3 separate regions of the Homo sapiens genome follow, and regions 1 and 3 are each linked to region 2. The links are contacts of gene promoters, found by promoter capture Hi-C in human tissues and cell types (Jung and others, 2019). All regions are on one chromosome and are shown on one strand. The core of a region is centred on a gene start or on the middle of the fragment in contact, and the rest is flanking DNA. Distances in the headings are between cores, read along the strand shown.

What was found. Contacts are between HindIII fragments. The study calls those that stand out against the background at their distance.
Region 1: a fragment that was not itself captured here is called in contact with the fragment with the promoter of HDHD2 in region 2 in 1 of the 25 tissues and cell types used here (liver).
Region 3: a contact is called between a fragment that was not itself captured here and the fragment with the promoter of HDHD2 in region 2, in 1 of the 25 tissues and cell types used here (H1 embryonic stem cells).

What each region holds. Positions count from the first base shown.
Region 1 is chr18:47,192,167-47,196,982 of GRCh38, forward strand. No RefSeq gene overlaps it. Among named protein-coding and RNA genes, the nearest start is that of IER3IP1, 18 kb to the left of the region's middle. RefSeq lists an enhancer at 1-146. The HindIII fragment of the contact is 4,108 bases long and covers 168-4,275 here.
Region 2 is chr18:47,147,141-47,152,069 of GRCh38, forward strand. It overlaps HDHD2 (haloacid dehalogenase like hydrolase domain containing 2), which reads right to left and starts at 3,360. Exons shown (of 7, transcript NM_032124.5): 1 at 3,238-3,360. RefSeq lists an enhancer at 2,769-2,828. The HindIII fragment of the contact is 18,750 bases long and covers 1-4,929 here.
Region 3 is chr18:47,105,279-47,110,347 of GRCh38, forward strand. HDHD2 (haloacid dehalogenase like hydrolase domain containing 2) reads right to left here. Exons shown (of 7, transcript NM_032124.5): 7 at 2,132-3,507. The coding sequence ends at 3,404. Among named protein-coding and RNA genes, the nearest start is that of HDHD2, 43 kb to the right of the region's middle. The HindIII fragment of the contact is 3,963 bases long and covers 1,220-5,069 here.

The DNA.
Region 1 (4,816 bases), core at 972-3,471, 44 kb after region 2:
ACTCCTGTTTGCCTTGTTGCTTCAGATGACTCACAGCCTCTGCTTCCTCTCAGTTGCTGCTTATTAGTTACTCTTCTTGCCTCATGGCTTCTGCCTATTGCTTCTTTCTCTTTGTGTCTTGGTTTCTGCCCTCCCGCCACCAGTTACTCACTCTATATGTCTTCAATTCAGATTCCCTGAATTCAAATGCAGGTCTAGGGCCAAGGGCACAGCAGAGGGTTTAATATTTCAATCGGACAAGGAGAAAAGTCATCTTTTGAGACTGAAGGGAAAAGGTGAGGTAGATACTTCTGTAGGTGAGAACAAGAAGTTCAGAGGTCAAGTCTGATAACTTTTGTCTCAGTAGTCAAGTAGGGGATAGCACTGTCTGCTGAGAATGAGGGCCTAGGCTTGAGAAAGGAGATTGTAGAGCACTGTTTTGGACTAGCTTTAGATGGAGAAGAACTGACCTGAAACAGGTGAAAACATTGACAGGTGAAGCTGAGAGCTGAGGTGTGAGAGTAGATGAGACCAATCTGCCAATTCATGTAGCTTGTGTGATTTCTTCTTGACTGTGTGATTTCAGTCCTGCCTAACCTCCACCCCCACCCCCTGGGTAGGAATGATGGGGTCAGGTAAGAGGAGAGCTCAGAAGATCAACTACTTGCATTGGCAGAAAAGAAAAGTTAGAAAGAAGCTGAGAAGAGGGAGAGATCGGGGACTGGAAGTCTTGAAGAGGTGGATGAAAATGCAGAAAGAATGGGTGATTGGGATTAGAAAGTAGGATATTTGAATGTAGCATTTCAGAGGTGATGACATGGTGTGACATGTATGGGAGATTAAATATGGCCACAACTTCTTTGCAGCTCCTCTTTCCACTCTGAATCTGAGCTGGCCTTGGCACTTGTTTTCATCAATAGAATGCAGATGCAGTGATGTTGTGCAAATTCTGGAACCTAAACCTCAAGAGGCCTTATAGCATCTGCCTTTGCTCTTGGAATGCTGCCCTGGCACCCCCATGACATGAGAAAACCCAGAATGAAAGACCATGGAAAGAGAGTCCCAGTTATCCCAGTTGTCTCAGCGTAGCCCACTTCCCACCCACCTGCCAGGAGTGAGCCCAGTGGGACCAACAGAACTGCCCAATCTGCCTACAGACTCATGAAAATTAATACATCATTGTTTTAAGCCACTAAGGTTTACAGTGATTTATTTCAGCAATAGTTAACTAAATCCCATGGGAGTACCCTAATGTGATATAGCTTCCTTTGGCTAGAGCCTCCTTCCCCCATCTTTGCCACCCATTCCCCTGCACTCACACTTTATTTGACCAAATGTTCAGTCCATGTATCACCCCCTCTAGCCAAAGTGTACCAAGAAGGATGAAAATAAGATGTTAGAAAGAAGCCTTTCCTCATCCTCCAGTCCACGTCAGATGTTCTTTATGTTTCCAAAGCATCTTCTGTCTATCTCTACCACAGCACTCCTGCTGCATCATAAATATTTGTATTCTTCACTGCACAGCATGTATCTTGAATGTAAGCTTTCCTAAGCCCAGTACCTTGCACCATTCCTGGCACCTAGCTGTCATTCAGTTGTTTATTGAAGAAATAATCCAATATTTTACACTTCAGATGAAATCTTGCTCCTTCACTTACAGAGAAATAGCCTTGCCAATAGTATAACATGACAATGACCACAGTATCCATACCTAAAAATACACTTTGTGTAGTAACGGAAGAGATGAATACTCATGAATGGTTTTACCCTCCTCCTTGCTAATCAAAGTCTTATTGGTACAGATTAAATCTCACCTCCTCCATGAAGCATTGCCTACTAGTGCTATCCGACACTCACTCACTCTGTTGTACTCACTCACTTAGGCTTCTTTATTGCCTGGCTTACTGATTCACAGCATGAGTTTGGGAATCAAAGAGCCTTAGGTTCAAATCCCAGGTGGACTATTCATTTTATTTATTGAACACATCACTTGAACCCTCTGATACCCACTTTCCTGATCTGTAAAATGGTTGTAAGAATCCCTATCTTATGGGGTTATTGTATTATATAATAAAGTATTTAGTACTTGATACTTGGTAAGTTCTTAATAAATGGTAGTTATTATTCGTGATTCTTCCTGAAAGGATCTGTAGGGAGGTCTGTCTGTTCCATGACCCTAAGCAGAACCACAGTTATGCCATCCTGTAGAGCTGCCTTTAGCATTTCAGAGAAGGGTTATTGGTAAGATGGCACAGTTTCAGAATCTTACTCATTGAAAATCTTTCCTAATGCATGGTGAATGACTACAAGTCTGGGTTTGCTTGAGGATTGTCATTAGTTGAAGAGGTGACACTTTAGGGGCATTTATCTGGATTTCTTTAGTATCTGCTTTGAGGAAGGTCTTTCTCTTTGTAGCAAAACAACTATTCTGTTTTTTTATTTGTTTTGTTTTGTTTTGTTTTGTTTTGTTTTGTTTTAAGATGGAGTCTTGCTCTGTCGCCCAGGCTGGAGTGCAGTGGCGCAATCTCAGCTCACTGCAAGCTCCGCCTCCTGGGTTCATGCTGTTCTCTTACCTCAGCCTCCCGAGTAGCTGGGACTACAGGCACCCGCAGCCACGCTAATTTTGTTATTGTATTTTTAGTAGAGATGAGGTTTCACCATGTTAGTCAGGATGGTCTTGATCTCTTGACCTCGTGATCCACCCGCCTCGGCCTCCCAAAGTGCTGGGATTACAGGTGTGAGCCACCATGCTCAGCCAACTATTCTTTACTAGTGCTGACAGCTCCATTTTGGGCTCTTGTGGCTTGAAAAAATTGATAACCTAATCATTTCCCATTTGCTGCTTCTAACAACCCACTTCACATGATACTATTGTGCGGGAATGTGCAGAAATGGAGATGACGTTTAGTGAAGAGCCCTGGGACCCTCAGAGGAAGAAGCCATCATCATGAGGTCATCTTTGTGGCTGAAAGATACAAAGACCCCTAAATTCATAGAATGAGAGGCTCTAAGCTTTCCTTTATGGATCATGAAGGGGAACTAAGGGGAGTAGCTCTTTCCAGAATGGATTAGCTTCAATGTTCCAGATGAAGAAGACAAAGAGGAGAGGGGGTTGCAGAAGAAGGAGAGGAAGTTGAAGAGGAAGACAAAGAGGAGGCAGAAAAACAAAAGAGGAAGGTGTAGGAGGAAACAGCAGAATTGATCAAGCAGAGGAAAGAATCAGTGAGCTCAAAAATAGGCCATATGAAAATACATAGAGGTGAAAAAAGAATGAAAAGAAATGAAGATTGCCTACAAGATATAGAAAATTACCTCAAAAGACTTCAAATGTAAGAATGATTGGTGTTCCAGAGGGAGTTGTGCAAGAGCAGGGAGCAGAAAGTTTACCCAAGGAAATAGTAATAGAAAACTTTTCAAAACTTGAGAAAGATATAAATGTCCAGGCACAGGAAGGTCAGAGAATAACAAACAGTTTTGACCCAAGTAAGACTATCCCAATGTAATAATCAAAGTCTCAAAAGTCAAGGACAAAGGAGGATGCCAAAAGCAATGATTGAAAAGAAGCAAATAACATGTAAAGGAGCTCTATTTCATCTGGCAGCAGACTTCTCAATGGAAGCCACATAGGCCTGGAGGGAGTGGCTTGGCATTTTCAAAGTGCTTAAACATAAAAAATTGCCATTTAAGAATACCATATCCAGCAAAGCTATCTTTTCAATATAAAAGATTAATTCTTTCCCAAGCAAAAGCTGAAAGAATTTACTACCACCAGACCTGTCTTACAAGAAATGCTAAAGAGAATTCTTCAACATGAAAAAATAATCCACTGTATTAGTCCATTGTCACACTGCTATAAAGACATACCCAAGACTGAGTAATTTATAAACAAAAGAGGTTTAATTGATTCACAGTTCCACAGGCTGTACAGGAAGCATGGCTGCAGAGGCCTCAGAAAACTTAAAATCATTGCAGAAAGTGAAGAGGAAGCAGGCACATGTTTACATAGATGGCAGGAGAGAGAGAGAGTGAAGGGGGAAGTGCTACACACTTTCAAACAACCAGATCTCATGAGAACTCACTACCATGAGAACAGCAAGGAGGAAATCTGCCGCCGTGATCCAATTACCTCCCACTAGATCCCTCCCCGAACATTAGATATTACAATTCAACATGAGATTTAGGTGGAGACACAGAGCCAAACCATATCACCCACTAATGTGCACTAAGAAAACATTTGAAGGTATAAAACTTACTGGTAAAAGTGAGTACACAAACACATTCAAAATATTCTAATACTGTAATTGTGGTGTGCAATCCACTCATAACTCTAGTATGAAGCCTAAATCTATCAAAAACAGTAGTAGATGCAGCAACCTGTTAAGAAATAGACAATGTAAAAATATGTAGATTGAGACAACCAAAAATCAAAGTGTTGTGGGGATGGAGTTAAAGTGCAGAGTGCAAAGTATAGAGTTACAGTGAAATGATGAAAAAAGATATCCTATGCAAGTGGAAAGCATAAAGAGCAGGAGAAGCCATGCTTAACTCAGATAAAACAGACTACAAGTCTGGCTGGGCGCAGTAGCTCACGTCTGTAATCCCAGCACTTTGGGAGGCTGAGGTGGGTGGATCACTTGAGGTCAGGAATTCGAGACCAGCTGACCAACATGGTGAAGCCCCATCTCTACTAAAAATACAAAAATTAGCTGGGTGTGGTGGCACATGCCTGTAATCCCAGCTACTCTGGAGGCTGAGGCAGGAGAATCACCTGAACCCAGGAGGTGGAGATTACAGTGAGCCGAGATCATGCCACTGCACTCCAGCCTGGGTGACAGAG
Region 2 (4,929 bases), core at 2,110-4,609:
AGCCTCCACCTTCAAGGCATTTTGAATTTTAAGTAAATCCCCGATTCTGTTTGTCTTTCATAATGTATCTGATGAAAGAGGGAAAAAGAAGACTGCAGAGGTTAAAAAATATATTAAGAGCTGTGGTTAATCAAATTTCAACTGCAAAATCCTACCTTCTCTAATAGTCCACATGTTATTCTATTTCTGATCTTTATTGTGACCTTGAATTGAAGGATTATATAAGCAAGAGCATCAACTATTACCTCCCTGAGACAGAAAACAGCTTGTTCATCAAAAGACTAGACCGTTCCTAGGGATTCCATTTGGATGTGTAATAGTTAAAAAATTATTTGAAGTACACTACAAAAGAATGGACCAAAAAAAGGCATTTTCTTTTCATATATACAGAGGAATCTAAAATTGCTTCTCTCAAAACCCAGCTTTTATGGGAGATATCTAATATTCAAGAAGAAACGTTACCTCTGAAGGTGATTAAAGAACAAATATGAACAAGACCAGAAAAGCAATGAAAGTAAGAACTGTACTATTTACTTGGAGCCAAGGAACTGTCATAATACATATTTATCATTTTAATCCTTACTGAAGCATCCACACAGGCTTAATGTTACCAAAACATTTTAAAAGCCTATATTCTTTGCTCTCACCAGTTCCATAGAACGTACCTTTTAAACTCTAAAATGCTCTTCTGGAGCACCACATATTTGAGAGTGACTGACTAAGGCCTAGAATAAAATTGAGGTGCCCCACTCATACCTCAAAATATACTTACTTCTTCAGTTAGTCCCACTAACTTGATCACTTGATCACTATGACCTCTCTTCTTGTCCAAAACTTTGTTTTTTCTTTCTTTTTTTTTTTTTTTGGAGACAAGGTCTGACTCTATCTCCTAGGCTGGAGTGCAGTGGCACTATCTCTCAGCTCACTGCAACCTCTGCCTCCCCGGCTCAAGCCATCCTCCCACCTCCGCCTCCCAAGTAGCTGGAACCACAGGTGTGCACCACCACGCCCACCTAATTTTTGTACTTTTAGTAGAGACGGGGTTTCACCACGTTGCCCAGGATGGTCTCGAACTGGTGAGTTCAAGTGATCCATCCGCCTTGGGCTCCCAAAGTGCTGGGATTACAGGTATGAGCCACCAAGCCTTGTCTGAACATGTATAATACTCGTTACCTGAACTACAAGCTGGTATTTGATAAAATGTAATTGTAAAATACTAATATAACCCTCAAAATAACTATAAAGGCTTCAAAGGTAGTGCCTGATTTTGTTTATCTTGAGTCCATACCCATCTCCCATAATCGGAACAAATTACATGGGACACCCCTTAGAAGAGCCATAAACCACTGACAGTGGTACATATTCAATGCAAAGAAGAAAAGCCATATTCTCTCATCCCAAGAGGAGAACTTCCAGATACTTCAGAGGACATCTGGGCTTGAATATCACTGGGGCATCTCAATCCAAGTCCTTTCACCCTCAAAGGTGCTCTTTCCCAGCCATCCTTATGAGTGGTTGGCAGCACCATCAATCCAGACACCAAATTATGTCAGTTCTACTTCCTTTACAGTCTTATATCCACTTACTTCTCTTCATCGTTTTTAAAACTACCTTTTTGAAGTTGGAAATCAACTCTCATCTAGACTATTTAAACAACTTCTTAATTGTCCTCTCTACTTTGCATCTCCTATTACCAGCCCTAAATTATTCCCTACAATGCAACAGTGCAGTGGTTAAGGACAAGAACAAAGGAGTTGTATAAATTTATAGCCTGGGTATACATCTCCACTCACTAGCTGGGTGAACCTGGGCAACCTTCTTAACCTTTTTGCCTCAGTTTCTTCATTGCTAATGTAGAAATAATAACACAACTCTAATGGTTGATAAGAGGATTAAAGAAAGTAATACCTATAAAGAATTGTGAATTGTGTCCCGCTCAGAGAAAGGTTGGGTTATGTATGTGGAGGGCTGGGAGAGAGAAGCAAGGAGGGAACATTATGGATATATCAAGGGCTACAAAAATCACAGGATACACATGATGCAAAGTTCTAAAGCATTAGTATAACTTGAGGATTTGAGAAAACACATCTAAATATATATTATGGCATATTATTCAAAACTTGCATACTTACAACAAGAGATTTTAATACAAATTTTCCCTTGGGAAATTGGGGCGCTACAAAACATGCCTCCTAAAACCCCTGGGAAGTACAAATTTTCTTTCCTTCCCTATATGGTTCCAGACTTTTCTGGAACCACTGTAGGCATTCAATAAATGACGGTATTATTCAGCCACTCCCCAGTTAAAACTCTTCCAGTGACTCCCCGCTGACCTCTGGATAAAGTCTGAACAATGAACACTGGTGGACAGAGTCCTGGTTTACCCTCTCCAACACATTTGTCTCTACTAGCACCCAAGTTCCATGGTACTGCAGGCGGCCAAGAGCTCTACACTTTGCCTCCCTCGTTGCGGGACTTTTGTCTGCAACTACTCGGGCCCCTCTACACCCTCATCTCCTGGCCAATCCCTTTAGCCCTCAGTCTCTGATAACCATCACTTCCTCTGGCGTGCCTCCTCTGGGTCCAACTCCTTTTCTCCCAGAGTTAGGCTAGGAGCCACCTGTGGTCCTACTACATTTACCACTGTCCTGGTTACCAGCCCGCGCCTCTCCTACTAAACTGTTAAGCTCTGTGCATAAGGGACTGTGTTGCCTTTCCCACTGGGTTATTTAGGCGTTCAATAAAGATCGTGAATTAACTCATGAATCCCGGTGTCCACAGCTGGAAGGCCCCAACAACAAACTCTTTCAGCACCAACTCAACTTCCATCCCCCCATCTCTTGGCTGGGAAGGGGCCTCAAGACTGGTCACTGCACTCGGTTCTAAACCAAGTACCAGGGCCTTAAAAACGCCAAACTGACCAGGAGGGACGCTAGCTCCAAAATACAGCCCAAGAGCACGCTTCGAGGAATGACTGACACACTAGCTTCACGATCCGCCCCGCAGAGACCCACAGCGCGCCTCGCGCCCAGCTATGCGCACGCGCGGGGCCACTGCAAAGAGGGCGGTTCCGACGCGGAAAACAGGGAATGCGCACAGAGCAAGAGCGCACGGCCCGGCTCGAGAGGAGGGGCGGCCTGGGGGCGCCACTAGTAGTTCCCGAACCCTGTCACAAAATCTGCAGCCTCCCGGCCCCAATTGCGCTTCTTCCTCTTCAGTCCTACAGCGGCTTCTCACCCACACTCCGTACGCCGTCCTCAGGAAAGGCCCCCGCTAATGGCAAAGCCAGCCACCCGCACTGGCCGCGGGTCCTCAGCCGGGATAGACAGCCCCGCTGCTGCCCGACGGACGCCGGAAGTTGGGCCCTGGCCGCGCCGGAAGCCCCGGATTTCCCGGCTCCGCCCCACCCCTTCGCCCGGGATTTCCGCCGAGGCGGTGCAGCTACCGCGCCGTGTTGTCCTCTGTCTGCACCGCCGCTGACGGAAAGCTAGGCCCTTCTGGAGACCCGCTTTCCCAAGGGCGCGGCCTCCTGGGCCGGGATGCACGAGGAAAAATAATCCCCTGCCTTTCTTCGGTAGCTGTTTTCCAGTCCACAGCACCACTGCTGAACCGAGCGTTACTGAGTAGCGTTCTTTGCCTTCACCCCTCCCTTCCTCTACCACTTGTCCACTCTCGAGGTTTAACTAAGAAGTCATACTTTACTAGACAACCCAATCTCAGAAGTCGTCATTTCCCCCTTAGCTACTTGAATAGTACCTGGCACCTCTTGCTTCCTCCATTAACTACTCCCTCGGGCAGCGACGTCCCTCCTTTCCCTCTTCTCTCCCGATTAGAGCCACTACGGGCCGTGCCTTCCTCTTCCACGGGAGCTCTATCTTGGTACACCCAGAACCACCTCCCTCCCTAACCCGCTGCCACACTCGTGGGGGTCTCTACCTGTCTCCTCTTGATCCAGGTAAGTTATGTGGACCTGAATAATAGAGTACAGAAAAGTCACTCTTATGCACTCACTATGAAAATGACTGAACAACTTTCTGGAGCCGTGTTGACATAATAGGATACTCACTCGGGTTACACCTTATACAAGGGTTATACCCCTTGATAAAACCACTGCTCTGTCCTTGACTAGGGACCCATATATGCCACCCGTATGCCACAATCTAACACCCCCACTACCCAAGGCTGCAGTCAGCCCTGTTAGGAGCTGTGACCCATTCTGTCCCTTGGACTAGGAGCCATCTGCTTTTCCTCCCCACTGGATCTGAAGTTTTTTTGTCTTACTCATATATGCTAAGTTTAAGTTTTCTGTGTGAGGGTCTAATTGGTTGAAGGAAAAAGGATTTGGTCCTAGTTTCCCCTTATGAGCCAGCTGTCTTTGACCAGATTAAGACATCACCAAAGGATTTTAAGTGGGTAATATAAGAAGTGTATTTTTCTAAATGCTTCCTCTGCCTGCAGTATGAATAGATAGGAGAGATGCCAGAATGGGTGAGACCAGATAAGAGACCCACTGCAGGGCCACAAGAGAGATACTTGAACTAGAATGTGTGGAAACAAAGCAAAGAGGATAAATTCATAGGAGGCAAAACAGAAACTGGTGACAGATTAGATTGGGGTTAGGGAGAAGGCATCAATTATCAGGCTCCAAGACTAGGCAATTGGGTAGTGTAACTGATTTTTTTTTTTTTTTGGAGACAGGGCCTCACTCTGTCACCCAGGATGGAGTGCAGTGGCACAATCATGGCTCACTGCAGCCATGACTTCCCAGGCTCAAGGGATCCTCCTGCCTCAGCCTCCCCAGACAGCTGGGACCACAGGTGCACACCACCACAACTGGCTAATTTTGATTTTTGTAGACAGGGTGGGGTCCCACGATGTTGCCCAGGCTGGTCTCAAACTCCTGGGTTAAAGCAATTCTTCCACCTCAGC
Region 3 (5,069 bases), core at 1,951-4,450, 42 kb before region 2:
AAACATGATAAGGCAAACACAGCCCTCTGCAAACAACTGCTAACATCACAAAGGGATTCTACTGCTTGAGGCAGTGTTTTAATGCAATAGGTTAGTGTCATTTAAAAAAATTCTCTATTATAGGTGCCCAAGGACTTCAGTTTTATCCTACATGAACACACATTGATCCAAAAACCAATTGAACACAATCAGTGTAGGTGTTTTTAACTTCTCTGTCCAACACACTACTGTAAGTTCTAAAATGTGGGATTATGTGTGAAGTGACATATATTATCATTCCATGGGAATTTCTGACATCACGGCTAAAGGTAAAGTTTGATGGAATTGTCACTTAGAATGAGGTAGGTTATCCTCCTTTTCCTTTCCTAGCCATTACGATTAGCTCTCACAGATGCAGAACGTACGGGAGGCAGAGCTACTGCAACCTGTGGCTGACTCTGGAGGTGTGGGTGGAGGGGGTTGAATCTGTTTCCCCTGGACTGGAGCTCTGCCCTGCTCCACACTCCTGGCTCACAGCAGATGTGGGACACTCAACTCCCGACAATGGATGTTTTCTAATAACCTTTCCAGTCCCAAGGTGTCACATGGTCCCTTTTCTGGCCCAGGACAGGATTATAATAAAACTGATGCAAACACCATCCTTGAAATTAATACCAGATAGCCCTTTAAATGGGACAGCCAGAAAATGAAGCCTAAGAAACTTCAGTTACTAAACTTCCTCCATGAGGCCCAAGGCAGACTAACCAGCTGAGACTAACATGGATTGGAATGTTTATAAGTAAGATTTTTAGTTATTCTCATGAACCTTACTGTGGGCCGGTCAGTTAGCAAGTCCTATATAATGCTTGTTAAAGATCTCAAACTAAGATTTTCAGGGCTCACAGGGATTAAGTGGAATGGAAGAATGGAGAGAAGCCATTTCTCCCGGCTGAGTCCATCATGCTCAGGAGACTTTTACCCTCTTCACTTCCTGACCCATCAATGATGTTCCCTTCTTGGCTTTAGCTCTAACCTGTCTCCAGAGCATCTGATCCATTACTTCCAAGTGTTTATTTAATGGGGCCTCCCCTATGGGCAACTTTAAGACAACAAGTCTAAAATGAACATTTTCTCCTGCCCACTCAAAGCTATGCTTTCTAGCATTACATTCCTAAGATATTTAGTTTTTATTGGTTCAGTAACCATTTGAGTGCTTACCTGTGTTGCAGCAGATATAGGAAAGAATGATGAAACTCAAATTTAACTGGGTAGCAAAATTAAAATTTAAAAAAATGAGATGCAGCCCTGTCTAGTGGGGAGAAGAGCATGTGAAGACATAAGTACACTCTTCAAGTGCCACACGGACATGAAGGAGGGGACACCTTGCCCCATCCTGAAGTCAGGGACGACATCAGAGGACAGGAACGCCTCTGTGTGTATTCTTTTCCTTAGCTCTTCAACTGAAAAGGATCCTTGAGGCAAAATCTTTTTCTTAATATGCTTATTTCCCACCATAATCAGGGCACTCAGTGCACAGCAACTAGCAAACACTTGATAATGCTTGGGCCAAGGCATCACTGACCCAGGTGCCCAAGCAACAGGGCAAAATTGAAGGCAGCCCACCCACCAGGCACCACGCAGAGCTCTCTACCCACAGGCTGAGCTCTCTCTCTGTGCAGCTTTGCTCTGAGGAAGTCTAAATGTAGTAAAGAATATCCTTTTTTTTAATCCTTAGGAAGACTTTCTCCACTGAGATAAATGTAAAGATAAATTCTACCAACCTTTTTCAGACTGTTAAATGTGGAGAGTCCTGCTTCATCATCATCATCATCACAAACGCACAGCACTCATCATTTGCCCAATGATATTCTAAGTACTTAATATATAGTTCATGCACGTAATGCTCACACCAACCGTATGTGGTGGGCACTATCATTATCCCCATTTTATAGATAAGGAAAGAAGGCATGAGAGGTGAGGTGACTTGCCCAAGGCCAGAGAGCTAATTTTGTGTTACCAGGATCCAGAGTATACTCTTAGCCACTCCGCTCATCCTTCTGATTTGGGGTGGTAGTCATATCACATCTGTCTTTTGCACTCTGGGATATAGAAGTACTAAGATGAGGCATTTGCAAAAACAAAAACACAGTGCTCACCAAACTAACATTTATTTAGCTTTGTTCCCTCCCATCCAAGACTGCTGATCTCTAAACAAGCATCAAAACCCGAAGCTCATTAACATCAGAGTGAGCTTCAATAAGGTGAACACTACAATGATGTACAATTACATCCTAATAATTCAATGCCCAAGAGCCCTGTAGAACTATTGCAAGGCCCAGGATTATCACAGTATGCAAATGCACTAGGAAAATCATTACCTATTTAGTCCCCTTTATTTTGGTGGGTTTAACATGAGAAGAATAATCCATGCTACAAGACGAGATTTCATTTTACAGCTGTAGTAACCAAGTGCATAAAAGCTTGAATCTGTCCCAATAGCTTCTAAAAAATTTTTCCCATAGTGTCAGAGGCAAAAATAATGAAATCTTGCAAATGTACAGTTAATAGGACCCTAGTGGACACTAACTTCAAAAATGCATGGTCTATAAGATATTATAAGGCTTGATTCTAGTTTCTGCACTGTTCCTGTTAATAACAATGTCTAATTAAAACATCTGTAAAATACTGATAGTTTTAATTTTACATAAAATTTCCAAAACAACTGTTACACAGTATAATAGGTATCTGCAATGAATAGGTTATTAATGGAAATATTAATTTAAATTAAAATCTGGTTCTAAATTTAAATTAGTCATCTCTGGCTAATGAAGAGAAAAAGAAGTCACCCGTGCTGGGAATACAGTAGAAAATTTAGTTTTCAACATCTGTTAAAGCAAATTCACTGTACCACTTGGGCTAAAGAACAATTCACTTTGTTGCTTTCTGTCTTCTCCATTTGGCACATCTGATGGATTTCACAGTTGAACTCAATATTAGAACTACAGCCTAATGCACCTTTTAATACATTACTTTATAATTTAAAAACCACCATTCAACTTTCTTCACAGTCTGAAATCCCCCCTCCCTGTTTTCCAGTGAAGAGACAGCAGAGAACACTCTTCCCTGTAGTAGCTTTTCCCCCACAGCCCCACCTAACCTGATGAATATTTTAAAAGGAATGGCACAAAATCTCAGCTTTCCCTTTCTTTGGGTCTCATCTTCAGTTACAAAATAAAAGAGATTAGCAAGGCTTACTGGCTAGCCGCAATTCAATACCTTTCTTTCTAATTAATGCACAACAAAAGAGGGTTAAAAAGCGATCAGCACTGACTGGTGTCTACCGATGCTGGCACTGAGTTGGTAAGGGATTCATTCCAGACAATAAGAAGCTGCATTTCAAGTTGCTTCAGATGCACACACTGCTTCACAATAGGTGCTGCAGAATGTGGTCCACAGCATGAGGGAAACTCTCACAAGTTAAGTAAGGAGGTGGATTAATTTTTTCTTCATCTGATGCTCGATATTTCCCTGAAATGAAAGTAAAGCCAGTAAACACAGGCTGCCACCAGAATGCTAAATTAATCATACCCCATGAGCACCTGGGTCATCACAGCACCACCCTTACAGTTAAGACAGAATCAGGGGCTGCACATCTCCCAAATCACCTTTTATTGAGGCTTCAGGATGTAAATGAGGCAATTCAAAGAAATGTCACATTCAGCCTTTCCCCAGGCCCTCTGGTCATTCACAATGGACAGCCACAGGTACTGGATCGTCTGACAGCTAAGATTCCCTTCACATGTTCACAGCTGATGAAATCATTTTCTTTCCCCTACCCTCAGCTCTAAAGATAGATTGGTGATTAAATTAATGCTTTAAAATGGAAGCCCAGACCCCAGAGGGCAGAGGACTCATCCGCTCCCAAAGGCAACTGGGAACAGGATGTGCTGCTGCCACGCAGGGATCCAGGCAGCCCGGGAGCCCAGCAGATGAGAACGCCCTGGGTTGGGGAGGAAAAGAGTGATGGATGCTCGCAGGCCAGGGGCCAGGCAGGACAGGCCACTTGGCATCAAGCAGCAGGCTCACTGCCTGACTCTCCCAACCGTGGAATTCAAGATGGCCTGCTGTTCTAGCACCTGGCACACAATTTAACACCTCAACACAGCAGAGGAACCATTCCACAGTGGTCACAAAGAGCTTTTACAAGTCAGAAGGTGCACAGTCCCTATTTAAAGACCCTTTAATGGGTCCCAGTGCCCTTCAGAAAGAATCCAAAATCTCTACTGCTGCTTACCAAGCCCTTTGTCATGCAGCCCCAGTGACCCTCTCACCTAAGCATGTGCTACTGGCTCACCAGGCTGCAGTCCCAGACTGGACCTGCTTTTCTGAGGGCCTACACACGTGCCATTCCCTTGTCATTCCATTATTCTCACCTGACTACCTCCTTCATGCTTCAGGTCAGACCCCACCTTCCCATCCAAATTAAACCCCCTCCCTGTTATTCACCTTGTTCTTTGCCTCCACAACATTTACAACAATTTGTAATTATGCATTTATTTGTTTAACATCTGTCTCACATTTAAGAAGACTAAGTTATTTGAGACAGGGGCTATATCTGTTACATGTCCCAATGTATTCCAAGTACCTAACATAGTGACTAGCACATAGTAACTATCCTATAAATATCTTTTTAAAGAATGAATGGAGGGAAGAAGAGAGGGGAGGGAGGAAATGCAGAACGCAGCTCCTGCCCTGTAGCCACCAGGGCTGCCTCTGCCCTTCACCTTTCTCCTTGCTCTCTCATCCCTTTGTGGTCTCTATTGTTGATTCTTCTGCTTTTCCCAGTTTTCTCTGCCTAAACTCAGCTCTTTCAACAAGAGACCTACTGTTTTCTACAACTACTTTAAGAGGCTTTGCCAGACAAACACAAAGCCTGAAAAACCCTCTTTTCCACATCTTTGCATCATGGTGGAGAAGACGCTTCCTGTCTTATCTTACTGATTATAACTTCTTACAGGAAGGGAGCCAGCATCAAATGTACAAAGGTAATTAATATATACCTCACTCTCGTTAGCACCCTGAAGGCACCT